Linked DNA regions of Homo sapiens: regions 1, 3, 4 and 5 are each linked to region 2. Evidence: promoter capture Hi-C in 16 types of primary human blood cells and fetal thymus (Javierre and others, 2016). All regions are on one chromosome and are shown on one strand. Each heading gives the region's core, a stretch centred on a gene start or on the middle of the fragment in contact. The rest is flanking DNA. Distances are from core to core; before and after follow the strand shown.

Region 1 (2,700 bases), core at 5-2,504, 400 kb after region 2:
AGATGAGAGAGAGACAGAGAGAGAGAGAGAGAGAGAGAGAGAGAGAGAGAGAAGAGAGAGAAATAAGGGAGACATCAACACCCTGGAATATTGTGTAGATGAGTTTTAAAAAAAAAACAAGGTAGATCAAGATGTATTAACATGTATCAGATTGTTAAATTTCTTTAAGAAATAAAGTCATTGAAAAATAGAAAAATACAGAATATGGTTCAACTTGAGTTTTTAAAAATCCATGGGCTGGTGAGAAGCAAAACAGACTTCAGTGTTTTTACCCCACTTCTGTATTGTCTGAATCATCTGAAGAGACGCTGTTCATGTATTTCTTGCATAATTTTAAGTATCTGATTTTAATGGTATGAGGGACGGGATAGCAGGGGCCTTCCTGACCCTGTAATTCTCTGGAAGCAGTGGTCAGATCAGGAGTGGGACTGGCTGCAAGGCTTCTGCCCCCGATCCCCGACCCCAGGCTGGGGCTTCAGGATGCCCGACCACAGTGTTCTGAGGGCCTCTGACCATCAGGAGGCCACTGGAAGTCTTAGGGCTGAGGGAGGCATGGGTACTGGGCCTGGGAGGGCAGACGCTGAGGGCAGAGCAAGGGCCCTGGAGTCAGAACCCAGGCTTCTAGTCCCTGGAGCATTGGCTCAAATGGCAGAGTCTCCCTTGTTCCTGCGGCCACTCTGGGTCTTGAGACTGGTGGCATCCTCTGCCCTGACAGCCAGGCCAGGACCAGTGCGAGGAGGAGCCAATGGACCCTGGCTGGCTCCGAGGCTGCGGGGCTGGGTGTGAGGCCTCACCTTAGCCAGTTCTGGAGATGTGCCCCTTGACGTGGCTTCTCTGGGCGAGGCCAGGCTCCCTGTGGGCCCCAGATGCAGAGAGCCAGGATTGATTCTCAAGCCACGAGGTACCCCCCATCCCTGAGATAGGCCCAGCCTATGTGCGTGGCCCTCATCAGCCAGACACTTGGAAATATCCGCACAGTTGCTGGAGAAGCAGAGAAGAGGCCGCTTGAACACAGGGAGCCATCTCCCACAGCACACCACAGACTTCCCCGGGTGCGCGCCGAGGAGCACGGATTCTGACAAGGCGTTATACCTTCAAATCAGGTTCTAATAGCCAAGAATTGCAGGAACCCCTGTGATGAACTAACTTAAGCAGGTTTCTTTACTTTAGGACTTCTCAGGACCTTTCCTATGCTGGGGTACATGATGAGTCTCCATGAAGGTGTAATGAGTGCAACTTTTACTAGAAACCCACGGACTCAGGAGCCCTTTCCTTCCAGAGCATCTCACAGGGCTAGAGGGCTCCAAAAACACTGAGCCAATGAAGGTGGGAAACAAGCACTGAGGGTGCAGGACCATCGCAGACAGAGTTTGGGAAAACTTAAGAGGAGGATGAGGCCTGGTGCAGTGGCTCACACCTGTAATCCCAGCACTTTGGGAAGCCGAGGCGGGTGGATCACGAGGTCAGAAGTTCGAGACCAGCATGGCCAACATGGTGAAATCCCATCTCTACTAAAAATACAAAAATTAGCTGGACGTGGTGGTGGGTGCCTGTAATCCCAGCTACTCAGGAGGCTGAGGCAGGAGAATCGCTTGAATCCGGGAGGTGGAGGTTGCAGTGAGCCAAGATTGCACAACTGCACTCCAGCCTGGGTGACACAGCAAGACTCTATCTTGGAAAAAAAAAAAAGAGGAGGATGAGTAAGCACTGTCCTGCATCACTCAACAAGGGGGATATGTCCTGAGAAATGTGTCCTCAGGCAATTTCGTCATTGTATGAACATCATAGAGTGCACTTACACAAACCCAGATGGTAGTATGGACTACCACACACCCAGGCTACTGCTCCCAGGCTACACACTCAGAGAGCTTGTTACTGTACTGAATACTGTAGGCAATTGTGGCACAATAGTAAGTATTTGTGTATCTAAACATATCTATACATAGAAAAGGTAGAGTTAAAATACAGTATTATAATCTTGTGGGGCTGGGCACAGTGGCTCATGCCTATACTCCCAGCACTTTGGGAGGCTGAGGCAGGTGGATCACTTGAGGTCAGGAGTTCAAGACCAGCCTGAATAACATGGTGAAACCCTGTCTCTACTAAAAATACAAAAAATTAGCTGGGTATGGTTGCGGGTGCCTGTAATCCCAGCTACTCAGGAGGCTGAGGCAGGAGAATAGCTTGAACCCAGGAGGCAGAGGTTGCAGTGAGCCGAGGTTGTGCCAGGGCACTCCAGCCTGGGCGACACAAGCAAGACTCTGTTTCAAAAATAATAATAATAATAATAATCGTATGGGCCCACCACTTTAGCTGCAGTCTGTAGTTGACTGAAACGTTATGAGGTGCATGACTGTATAAGAAGGTGTGAGAAAAGTGGAGGCCACCTCACCTGTGAGAGATTTGTTTAAAGACCAGTCCTGCTAATAGAATGCAGGTGGGTAGGGGGTGGGGAAAGCCCATCAACAGAGCAGGTGTGGGACTAACATTCATCTCTTTTCTCGGAGTTTGACACCTGGGCTCATGCACATATGTGCACCTACCTAGGCACATACCCAAAGGTACACATACAAAAAGCTCACATACAAGCATGTGCTCACATGAAACACACACAAGCACACATGGAAGAACATATCTCCTCATGGGCACACTCGCATACAGCAAAGCACACACCCATGCACACCCCCAGGTGTGTGCCCA
Region 2 (2,700 bases), core at 13-2,512:
ATCAATAAAGAACCTTCAAGTTTCTACTACTTCCGTGTGCCTCTGTGTCTTGCATGATGGATCTTGGCTAGGTCAGCTCCTGATCCAGGTCCTCCCATGTTCCACCTGCCCTCAGATCCCCTCCTGCCAGCTGCCAGAGCCCTCCTGCAGGAGGACAGACAGACATAGCTGGGGAAGTGATGTGTGGGATGCCAAGCAGAGGAGCAGATTGGTAGCAAGACAAGGAGTCAGGTGACAGGACAGTGTGTCACCTCTGGTAGTCCCTGCCTCTGGCTTCCTTGGCCCACACTTTCAGGGTCGTGCTTCCTGGAGCCAGGTCTTCCCGAAGTGTCATCACCAAGTATGACAAAGTGTGAGATGAGGAGTAGAACTAGACCCATGGGACCTGGCTCCCTGCCATCTCCCCTCTTCAGCTGGGTCCCAGGGCCCCAATTCAGTCCCTGAAGATCATGCTCACCACACCTCTTCAGCTCTAGAGGCCACATCACCTTGTTATTTCGGGGTCTAGTCTGCCTTATCCCCCTCCTCATCTCAAACTATCTGGCCTTGAGCCATCTTTCTGCCTTAAAAACAGCTGCTGATCTTCATGCTACCTCCCTTGCTCAGGGGAACATGAAACAGGCTAGAAATGGCTCTCAGAAAAAAAGGTATTGTCAGCTCAAACTCAGGCCCCTCATTGTCTTCTGTCAGTCATAACCATTTGGGGCTGGGCTCCCTGTGTGAAGAGCACTCCAGGCTCCCAGAGTTTGAAGAACAACTTTGGTTTTTGGGTGGGTGGGCATCCTTAAGTGGGCCTCAGGCATCCTCCAGCTGAGATGCAGGAGGGGGAGGATGGACAGAAGGATCTGACTCCGTGTGGGAAAGGCAGGGAGGGGGCTGTGCTGGAGTCCTGATGCTCTCCTCCCCAAGAAGACGAGAAGACGGGGGCTCCACCAAAGAGCCAGCCCCAGGGAATGTCCCTGCCCTCTCCTTTAATGTCCTCCCGGCCCAGAGGAGGAAGGGGAGGGGTGTGGTGGGGGTGTTGGAGCCCCCCTCCTTTCCTGTTGAAGAGGCAGGGGAAGGGTTAACTCAAAGCAGAGGGGATCAGGTCGCCAGCACTGGCTCCAGATGTGCACTTCCTGGGGGCGGCCAACAGGCAGGCCCCCCACCTCTCAATGCACCACTTGCCTGGCCAGCAGGAAGGGGTTAACCTGCCCTGCACTTCCTCCTGTGTCCTGTTACTGCTGAGGCAGACCTGCCGGGCCAGCTGAGCAACTTTCCTCGGAGTGCTGCCTGGCGCTGGCTAGGAGGCAAACGCACGCGGGAAGAGCTGCTACCCATTCCAGGGACCCTGCCGCTGCCCCTCTGAGGGGTCTGCACCTCCTGGGAGCAGGTGGGTCTCTGGGACGAGGGTCCATGGTGGATGGCTCTGGAGACGCTCCCGAGGCTGTGCCGTCCCGCTGCTGCACAGGTCGGAGGGTCACCGCAGAGGCTACTCGGGCTGGGGCTGGGGCCGAGGGAGCCCGCACTGGAGGTAAGCTTCCTCCCTGGCCCCCTCCCTGGCAGTGGCGGCATGGAAGGCGGGGGTTGGTGGGGAGCAAACAGTGGTTCTGGGGCTTAGTCTCTTTTCCAGGTGCGAGGGAGAAGGCTGAGCTGTAGAGGACCTAAAGGCTTCTTTCCTGCCACCCCTCCCTCCCTGCCGCCCCCAAAAAGGGACTCAGGGCCCCCTCCCCAACCATCCTGGGACTTAGCATCTTTGGTGGCATCTTAGCATCTTTGGTGGCATTCCCCACAGACTCCTTCTGCACATCTCTGCTGTTTCCTCTTCTTCAGCCCCTCATGCACACCTCTAGCCTCAGGGCAGTCCCCCCTCCCCCATCTTCTGTGCTCCCGGGATGCAGCTATTACAGTGGCCAGAAGCTTAGAGTTCAAGCTCACCCCCTGTCCCTTACAGCATCAAGAAGGGCACTGTCATTCCCCACTGCTCAGGCTGGATCTGACTTGGAGGCAGGGGCTGGAGCCCACCTTAGCAGAGGACGGGAAGAGGGTGTGGGCTGGGCTGGTGGGTGCACAGACTTTACGCAAACTCATGCACGTGTGACTGGACAGATCTGGGTTCTCTCCATCTCTCCGAAACCCTTGCTGGGGATGAGCGATCTGCATTTTTCGGTCCTGACTTTTGGGAAACTCTCCAGATCCCCCCATCCTGCAGGCCCTGAGAAGAGCAGCCCCTCCCTACTGCGCAGTTCTCCTTGGGACCCTGTATGCAGGAGAGAGCTGATACTCCGTGCCCCGTGGCCCATCCCACCGCCTGCTGGCCCTGCTCCCATCCCCTCAGCTTCCTCCCTCCTCTGCCCTCTCGTCATCTCTGAATTCTCAGGCCCTGCCCTCTCTGTGCCCTTCCCTCCACCTGACAGGGTCTGGCTCAAGGTCACTGCAGTAATTCCATACCCAGCTGCCCAGGGCTGCTGCTGCTACCGCCACCGCCTTATCGGCCGCTGGGTTTCTGTTACACTCCCTTTTATTTCTGGGCATATCGTGTTCGATAAAACCCTTTGCTTGTAACACTGCTGGCAGCGCTCCCAGCTGCTCCCTCCCGCGTTCCCGCGTTCCTTCCTTTCCTCCTCCCTTCTCTGCGCTTGGGCAGGCTTCTTCCTTTCCTCCTCCCTTCTCTGCGCTTGGGCAGGCTTCTTCCTTTCCTCCTCCCTTCTCTGTGCTTGG
Region 3 (2,700 bases), core at 161-2,660, 420 kb after region 2:
AACATGTCTGGAGAAATTGGGTATGCTACCGGCATTTAGTGGGCAGAGGCCAAGGATGCTGCTATGTATCCTATAATGCACAGGGCAGGCCACACAGCAAAGAAGCACCCAGCCTCACATGTCAGTACTAGTGAGGTTGAGAACCGCTGGTTGAGGTGTCCTGTCAAATGGGGAAATCTGTGCCCCACAGCCGCCTTGGGGATTAAGGCAGGCAATGGATGAGGAACCCAGGACTGGGCCCAGCACACACTCCACAGTTGCATGGGATTCTCCTCTCCTAAGGACTTTTTGGCCTGGGACATGGTAGCTAGCGGGCAGAGGTGGAGTAGGCACATATTTTGGCTTTCACGAGAGAACTTTCTGAAATGATCTTGATGCTCCTGTCCCACCCAGCTCATGGCACAGTTTCTCTAGAACAATCCCATGCTCATTTATCAACAAGGAAAACCCAGGCATGGTGGCTCACACCTGTAATCCCAGCACTTTGGGAATCTGAGATAGGAGGATCACTTGAGCTCAGGAGTTCGAGACCAGCCTGGGCAACATGGCGAAACACTGATTCTGCAAAAAATAAAAAAAAAATTAGCTGGGTGTGGTGGTGTGTGCCTGTAGTCCCAGCTGCCCGGAGGGCTGATGTAGGTGGATAGCTCCAGCCTGGGAGGTTGAGGCTGCAGTGAACTATGATTGTGTCACTGCACTCCAGCCTGGGCGACAGAGGGGAGACCCTGTCCCAAGAAACAAAAAAAAAAAAAGAAAGAAAGAAAGAAAGAAAGAAAAAGTGGGCTCTGGAAGGAGCCAGCCACCGTTGCCCTCTGGGCACTCACCATCTCACCCCTCAGGCTCCAACAGGGTTCCACGTGACCAATCCCCGAGGGGAGAGGAGACTGCGGAGAGGATGGGAGGCAAAGCACCTCCTTCAAGCTCCAGGGAGGCAGGAGGATTTGTTTAGGAGTGGCCCTGTGCAGAGGTAGGGGCATGGCTGAGAACACCTTGGGAGGTGGTGTGAAGCTGAGTCCAGGAGCCGCCAGCCCTCCCTGCCACTCAGCTCAGGGGTCACTTGGGTAGCTTCAGCCTCAACAGCCGTGGAGTCAAGTGTCTCCTCTACAAAAATAATTCCCAAATAAGTCACTGCCTTCACCCCTGGGACTGGCTGGTGCACCCAAATTGGAGTCGCCACCCAGCCCCCTTGAGCATTGCCTTGCTGGCTGATCCAACAGAGGCAGAATTAGCTGATGAGGCTACCACAGCGGGAGGGAACTGACCTGAGGCCGCCTGGAGAGATGGGACCCCGAGGGCCCTTTCTGGCACTACTCACTTGTTGGGTCTGGGGAATTAAAACACACTCCCCCTCTCTGGGTCTCAGTTTAACAGGGAGGAGACCACCACCTTCCAAACCTCAGTGACGGCATCAGGCTGGGGGTGGTGCTGGGCCTCCTGCGTCTGTGTCTGGAGACGCAGCTGACTCCCTGACAAGCCCAGACATGCAGCTGTTCCTGCAGAGGAAGCAGCAGGAACTGGGGAAGGGCAGAGCGCTGAGGGAGGGGCAAGAGGGATGCAAGGACACCACAGTGACCGCGTGCAGCGAAGCGAGTATGAGCAGAGTCCCAATCTCCAGGTCCCCTCTCCGCGGAAGCACTTTTGTCTTTATTGGAAATTTCCTCCCATGTAACATCTGACCTCTACCTTCTCTTCTACAGATGAGCTCTGCTGTGAGTCCCAGCGGGCTGAGACACTGTGACTGCCCACCTGTCCCCAGGTGCCCCTTCTATACAGCCCCATCCCTTCCCAGGGATGCTCAGTGGCTGCGGCCACCCTTGCTTTCTGCCACTCAGCCCTTGCAGGGGCTTCACACCCCAAGAGGGGCAGTCTGGGCTGGGGCTCCTGGACTCCCTAAGGCATTATCCCATCCCCGCAAGTTGCCCGGCCGGGCCCTGAAGGAAAGGGGCCCCGGACCCAGACCCGAAGGCTGCTCACCAGAGGCTCTGCCCAGGGACTCTCACCTCTCCAGCCACTCCAACTCCCCTCCGGCTTTCCTGTCATTTCCTGATGCCACAAATCTTCTGACATCCTCCCTCTTCCCCAGTGAATTTCTTCCCCAGGCCCTTCCCTTCCTCAACCTGCTTCATACTGGACATTCCCAGCTGGTAGGATCTGCCTGTGGCTCTGCACAGGAGGCTGGGCAAGGGTGGAGAAGACTGGGGGAGCTGTCTCCCATGACCCCAGCAGAGGCGAGAGACAGAAGCTGCATCTGGGACCTGTCGGCTGCAGTTTTGGGCATTCATACCCACCTAAGCATTCTGGAACAGCCCTGAACCTGGGCATCAAACTCCCCAGGCTTGAGAATGGTGAACACTACTATTAGGCGCCCCTTCCTCCAGGCCTATGCCGACTCCCCTGTGCCCATGGAAGCTGTGTAGTCCATGCTGGCTCTGGCTCATGTGGGTGTCCGGACAGTGAGGCCGAGGCGGCAAGGGCCCTTTACTCTGTGCACTCCCAGCTCCCCATCCCAGCCAGGGCAGCCTTGACCCTCCTGCCCCCTTGCTGTGCCATGTGTCAGTTGGCTGGGATCATGCTCTTCCCCCGTCTCCATCAAGAGGATCCAACAGCATCTTGCAGCTAACACTGGGGCATGGGAGTGAGGGAAACAAACATGGTACCCACTCTTCTGTCCTAATGTTTAGAATCATGGGGCAGAAAAGC
Region 4 (2,700 bases), core at 2-2,501, 260 kb after region 2:
CAGAAAGCAGCCAAATTAAAGCTTAATTATAACTCTATTTCTGTCCAGAACCTGACATGTGATTCTTGTTAACCCTGTGGGGATAGTTTCAGTGGCTGGAACAGAGTGAGCAAAGAAGAGAGAGGACTGTTAGTGGGTCGCAGGCAGGGAGGTGAGGCAATCTGAATGATATTTCCAATAGGCCACTCCATGTGCAGACAGAACCTGGGTTGGAGAAGAGGAAGAAGGGAAGTGGGGAGTCCCCTTAGGAGGGTATTGCCATCGTCAAGGTGAGAGTTCGTGGTCGCCATGGTGGTCAGATTCAGGATGTACATTGAAGGGGGCCCAAATAGGATTCGCCAGTGCATTGGAGGAAAGGGAGGTAGGAGTCAAGAATGACTGACACTATTTTTTTTTTTGAAATGGAGTCTCACTCTGTCACGCAGGCTGGAGTGCAGTGGTGCAATCTTGGCTCACTACGTCCTCCTCCTCCTCCTGGGTTCAAGTGGTTCTCCTGCTTCAGCCTCACAAGTAACTGGGATTACAGGTGCGCGCCACCACGCCTGGCTAATTTTTGTGTGTTTTAGTAGAGAGGGGGTTTCACCATGTTGGCCAGGCTGGTCTTAAACTCCTGACCTCAGGTGATCCGCCCGCCTTGGCCTCCCAAGGTGCTGAGATTATAGGCATGAGCCACCGCGCCCGGCCAAGGATGACTGACATTTTGAATTTGAACAAGTGGGTAAATGGAGTTACTGTCTACTGAGATGGGGAGTGCTGGGGTAGGGCCTCTGCTTTAGACATAAAAGGTATCTGAGAGCACAGGGTCTTTGGAACCTGGTGTCTAAAGTAGACAAAGAGACTGGCATCTCAGGTAGGAGTGCAGGCTTGGGGAGCCCCACCTTCCACAGTGTGGGGGAAGCAGGAGGCCGTCAGAGTCTCACTAGCCATCCTGTTCATTCATGAATTCATTTATTCATTCATTCAGTAAAAATTTATGGAGCACCAAGGATAAGCCAGACACTTTTCTGGATGCTGGAAATAGAGGAGAACAAGAGGCGGTGTTGCCAGTCTAATTTGGTTCCTTACCTCCAGGTAGAAGAGACAGGTAATGAATAAGCAAACGTGTAAAAGAGAAGATGATCTTACAGAAGGACGGTGTCACAAGGAGCAGTAGAGGGTGGTAGGGAGTGCCAGGGAAACAGAATTGGGTAGGGGGTCACCCAGGCAGCCCCAAGGACCAGTCCCAGACTCCCAGGAGGACCTACCTCAGTTTGTCTTCTTTTTGTCCCACAGAATGGCTGCTATACCATTAGGAAGGGGAGGGAAGAGGAGTGGCCCTGCAGTGACCCTCAGGGGTCTTTGGAGGGGGGGGCTTTGTCCTAGAGGAAGAATCTCTTCGCAGGGTGCTGTGGCTCATGCCTATAATCCCAGCACTTTGAGAGGCCAAGGCAGGTGGAGCACCTGAGGTCAGAAACTCCAGACCAGCCTGGCCAACGTGGTGAAACCCCATCTCTACCAAAAATACAAAAATTAGCCAGGCGTGTTGGTGCGTGCCTGTAATCCCAGCTACTTGGGAGGCCGAGGCAGGAGAATCACTTGAACCCAGGAGGCAGAGGTTGCAGTGAGCTGAGATCATGCCATTGCACTCCACCCTGGACAACAGAAAAAGACCCTATTAAAAAAAAAAAAATTCGCCAGGCGTGGTGGCGCATATGCCTGCAGTCCCAACTACTCGGGAGGGTGAGGCAGGAGATCACTTGAGCCTGGGAGTTTGAGGCTGCAGTGAACTATGATTGTACCACTGCACTTTAGCCTGCGAGACAGAGTGGAGCCCTGTCTCAAAAAAAGGAAACAGCGGGTGTGGTGGCTCACACCTATAATCCCAGCACTTTGGGAGGCCAAGGCAGGCGGATCACCTGAGGTCAGGAGTTCAAGACCAGCCTGGCCAGCACTGTGAAACCCCATCTCTACTGAAAATACAAAAATGAGCCGGGAGTAGTGGTGAACGCCTGTAGTCCCAGCTACTCAGGAGGCTGAGGCAGGAGAATCGCTCGAACCCAGGAGGCAGAGGTTGCAGTGAGCTGAGACTATGCAACTGTACTCCAGCCTGGGTGACAGAGTAAGACTCTGTCTCAAAAAAAAAAAAAAAGGAAACAGAGAACCCATGAGAGGTATATGCTGTGTTCCCACAGAGCAAAACTGCTCAGCCCACTGCAAAATTCTTCTCTGAGTGTGTGGAAATGGGGTTGCTCACTTTCTACCATTTGAGAGTTTCTGCTATGCAAAGAATTTTCTTTGTGCTTCCTGGTGCTTTATCCTGCAAAGAATGGGAGAGTGAGGCCTGTGAAGGCTCATAAGCCAAAGTTCCCATCTGAGCTCTGCCACTGCATGATGGGTGACCTCAGGTGATGTGTTCGTGTCCTTTGGGACAGCAAGAGTTAATATGGGGGAGCAATTTAGTTAAAAGAGATTTTGAAGAAGCTGAACTCAGACAATTGTGAGCAAGCTTCAGGGATGGTTCTGGTTATTGAGACAAGGAACAAGACGAATACTAGAACCTGCGCTGAGGCTGTGGCAGGCTACGGAGAAGAGGAGGCAATGATATCTGCTAGGAGAGTGTTGCATTATGGGGCTGAGGGACTGGGAGGGCCATGGGCATTCCTGGGGCTTCCAGTTTGGGCACTGGAGTGAATGATGGACTATTAACTGGGAGTGAGCACA
Region 5 (2,500 bases), core at 1-2,500, 340 kb before region 2:
TCTCTTGAGGTGGCTGGGGCAGGAAGCTGAAGTCGAAACCAGCGCTGGGAGGACCAGGGGGACCAGGAGGTCCAGGAGGGCCGGGGGGACCCTGCACAGAGAGGGAAGAGAGTGGGGATTACCGGCATCCAAGTGCTTTGGGGGCTGGAGGGCCATGAGCAGAGGGGATGAGGGGCTACATACAACAGGACCAGCATCACCAGTGCGACCGCGAGGACCAGGGGGCCCAATGGGGCCAGGGAGACCGTTGAGTCCATCTTTGCCAGGAGCACCAGCAGAGCCAGGGGGACCCTGGAGTGGGGGAAATGGTTTGAGAAAGGCTGCCAGAAGCCCGAACAACCCCAGCTCTGGAGGAGAGGCCCACCACCCTCCCTGCTGGCTCTGGCCCCACGGCTCATAGAGCCAGCCTCAGCCTCTTTCCATAGGACATGCCATAGCTCCTCCCAGCCGCTGAGCCAGGGGAGGACGGATTGGGGAGCAGAGAGGCCAAAGCTAGATCAGATTGTTTGTTCAGGATTCTTCCTCTCTTTGCCCACTCCCTGTCCCTGAACCCTTCTCCAGAGAGGCAAAGGGTGCCTGGGTCCCTGGCAAGGGTCCCCGAGGTGAGCCTGGGCTTGGGGCTCAGGAAGAGGAGAGAGAAGGCATGACTTACTCGGGGACCAGCAGGACCAGAGGCTCCAGAGGGACCTTGTTCACCAGGAGAGCCCTGAAGGACAGATAAAAAAGGCAGTTCAGGCCCAGTGAGCGTCAAATGTAGCCTGAGGGCCTGGCTGGAGAGACAAGGGCAGTGTGGGCAACCCATGCCCCTTCATTATTCTGGAAATCTAGCCCGAGGGTGTCCATAGGCAGAGACCTCTCCCATAATCCCTCTCTGTGTACCCCTCACCCTCTCAGAAGCTACTTGGACATGCCCACAAATCTTCAGACCCCAGTCCCCACTAGGGAGGGGAAAGAATGACTATCCAGAGGGGGAAACTGAGGCGAAGCTCCCCCTCCTATCCCACAGCACAGCATGGGGACTGGGGAGGGGCTGAGCATACTTACAGGAGGGCCAGGGGGACCCTGGAGGCCAGAGAAGCCACGGTGACCCTTTATGCCTCTGTCGCCCTGTTCGCCTGTCTCACCCTTGTCACCACGGGGGCCTTGGGGTCCCTAGAAGAGAGAAAGGGACAAACTGTCAGGCGGAAGTTCCATTGGCATCGAGTGGGGCACTGTCTGCATCTGTAGAGTTCTAAAGGCATGGGGGACACAGCAGGGTACTTACGGCGGGGCCACGGGCGCCAACAGGGCCGACAGGACCGGCGGGACCAGCAGGACCCTGGGGAGAGCAAGGAAAGCATGAGCTCTTGGCCAGGGAAGGCTGAGGCTGGGGCTGCAGGATGAGGCCTCCCCTCTGCTGGATCTCTCTCTCCTCAGCTGCTTCCCACTGTGGCCATCTCTCCCAACTCCCAGGGAAACCTCCCCACTGCAATCTTCACGGGAGCTGGGGCCAACTCATGGGAGAGGCGGTCCTGTCTGGGAGAGGGGACTTGGGGCTGAGCTTTAACTCAGTTTTTTGGATTAAGGCCCTGACATCTTGCAGGATCTCCTTTCCTCCCCCTGCCTGGGTGAAGTCCGACACCCATCCCCAGGCCTCTAAGGAGGCCTGAAGAGTCCCTGGCCTGACCAGGTACAGGGAACTGGAGCCCAGCTACTTACAGTCTCACCACGATCACCACTCTTGCCAGCAGGGCCAACGGGGCCAGGGGCACCAGGAGCACCAGGAGCACCAGGGGGTCCAGCGGGGCCGGTCTCACCACGGTCACCCTGGCGGGGAGAGCAGGGGAATATGGGTCAGCCCCGGGTGAAGGGCCAGGATGGGGCAGGGAAGCAGCAGACAAGGCTGTGGTCATGGAGTGTTGCCATCTTACCTTGGCGCCAGGAGAACCGTCTCGTCCAGGGGAACCTTCGGCACCAGGAGCCCCCTGCAGAGAGAGAGAGAGAGAAGTGAGAGTCAGCCGGGGAAGAGGGCTTAGGCAAGGCCACAATGGCCATGCTGAGGGTACTGGCATGGGGGCTGGGGACTGCTCACCTCACGTCCAGATTCACCAGGGGGTCCAGCCAATCCAGGGGGGCCCATGGGACCAGGGGGACCACGTTCACCACTTGCTCCAGAGGGACCTTGTTTGCCAGGTTCACCCTAAGGGAGAAGAAAGAGTCAGGCCAGAGATAGGGTCTGGGAGGACCCTTGAGTCCGCTGGAGTCATCTCTACCAAATCTGTTCTCCTTGGCTCCGCCCCACTCCAAGTCCTGTGATGGTTTTTCTCAGGGCCCCCCAAGGTGAGGGGGGCACTTACAGAGGGGCCAGGAAGACCAGGGAAGCCTCTCTCTCCTCTCTGACCAGGCAGGCCGACCACACCACGCTGTCCAGCAATACCTTGAGGCCCGGGAGTACCAGGAGCACCCTTTGGGAGGCAAACAGGGGTGAGGTGCCAGAGAGCAGCACAGGGACCCCTCCCCA

The links. Contacts are between HindIII fragments. The CHiCAGO score rates a contact against its expected background, and 5 or more counts as called.
Region 1: a contact is called between a fragment that was not itself captured here and the fragment with the promoter of EPN3 in region 2, in 1 of 17 cell types (endothelial precursors). The highest score is 6.5, in endothelial precursors.
Region 3: a fragment that was not itself captured here is called in contact with the fragment with the promoter of EPN3 in region 2 in 2 of 17 cell types (M2 macrophages and total B cells); the score reaches 5.6 in M2 macrophages.
Region 4: a contact is called between a fragment that was not itself captured here and the fragment with the promoter of EPN3 in region 2, in 1 of 17 cell types (M1 macrophages). The highest score is 5.1, in M1 macrophages.
Region 5: a fragment that was not itself captured here is called in contact with the fragment with the promoter of EPN3 in region 2 in 1 of 17 cell types (megakaryocytes); the score reaches 5.1 in megakaryocytes.

Annotation. Positions count from the first base shown.
Region 1 is chr17:50,931,934-50,934,633 of GRCh38, forward strand. No RefSeq gene overlaps it. Among named protein-coding and RNA genes, the nearest start is that of TOB1-AS1, 67 kb to the left of the region's middle. The HindIII fragment of the contact is 5,593 bases long and covers 1-2,700 here.
Region 2 is chr17:50,531,473-50,534,172 of GRCh38, forward strand. It overlaps EPN3 (epsin 3), which reads left to right and starts at 1,263. Exons shown (of 10, transcript NM_017957.3): 1 at 1,263-1,513. It overlaps MYCBPAP (MYCBP associated protein), which reads left to right. Exons shown (of 19, transcript NM_032133.6): 19 at 1-29. RefSeq lists an enhancer at 2,129-2,700. The HindIII fragment of the contact is 5,271 bases long and covers 1-1,516 here.
Region 3 is chr17:50,952,953-50,955,652 of GRCh38, forward strand. No RefSeq gene overlaps it. Among named protein-coding and RNA genes, the nearest start is that of TOB1-AS1, 88 kb to the left of the region's middle. RefSeq lists enhancers at 930-2,129, 941-1,621, 1,622-2,302. The HindIII fragment of the contact is 9,104 bases long and covers 1-2,700 here.
Region 4 is chr17:50,787,995-50,790,694 of GRCh38, forward strand. No RefSeq gene overlaps it. Among named protein-coding and RNA genes, the nearest start is that of MIR8059, 21 kb to the left of the region's middle. The HindIII fragment of the contact is 2,464 bases long and covers 20-2,483 here.
Region 5 is chr17:50,186,832-50,189,331 of GRCh38, forward strand. It overlaps COL1A1 (collagen type I alpha 1 chain), which reads right to left. Exons shown (of 51, transcript NM_000088.4): 40 at 2,337-2,444; 41 at 2,072-2,179; 42 at 1,911-1,964; 43 at 1,699-1,806; 44 at 1,265-1,318; 45 at 1,045-1,152; 46 at 653-706; 47 at 184-291; 48 at 1-91. Among named protein-coding and RNA genes, the nearest start is that of COL1A1, 14 kb to the right of the region's middle. RefSeq lists enhancers at 1,875-2,430, 2,431-2,500. The HindIII fragment of the contact is 5,715 bases long and covers 1-2,500 here.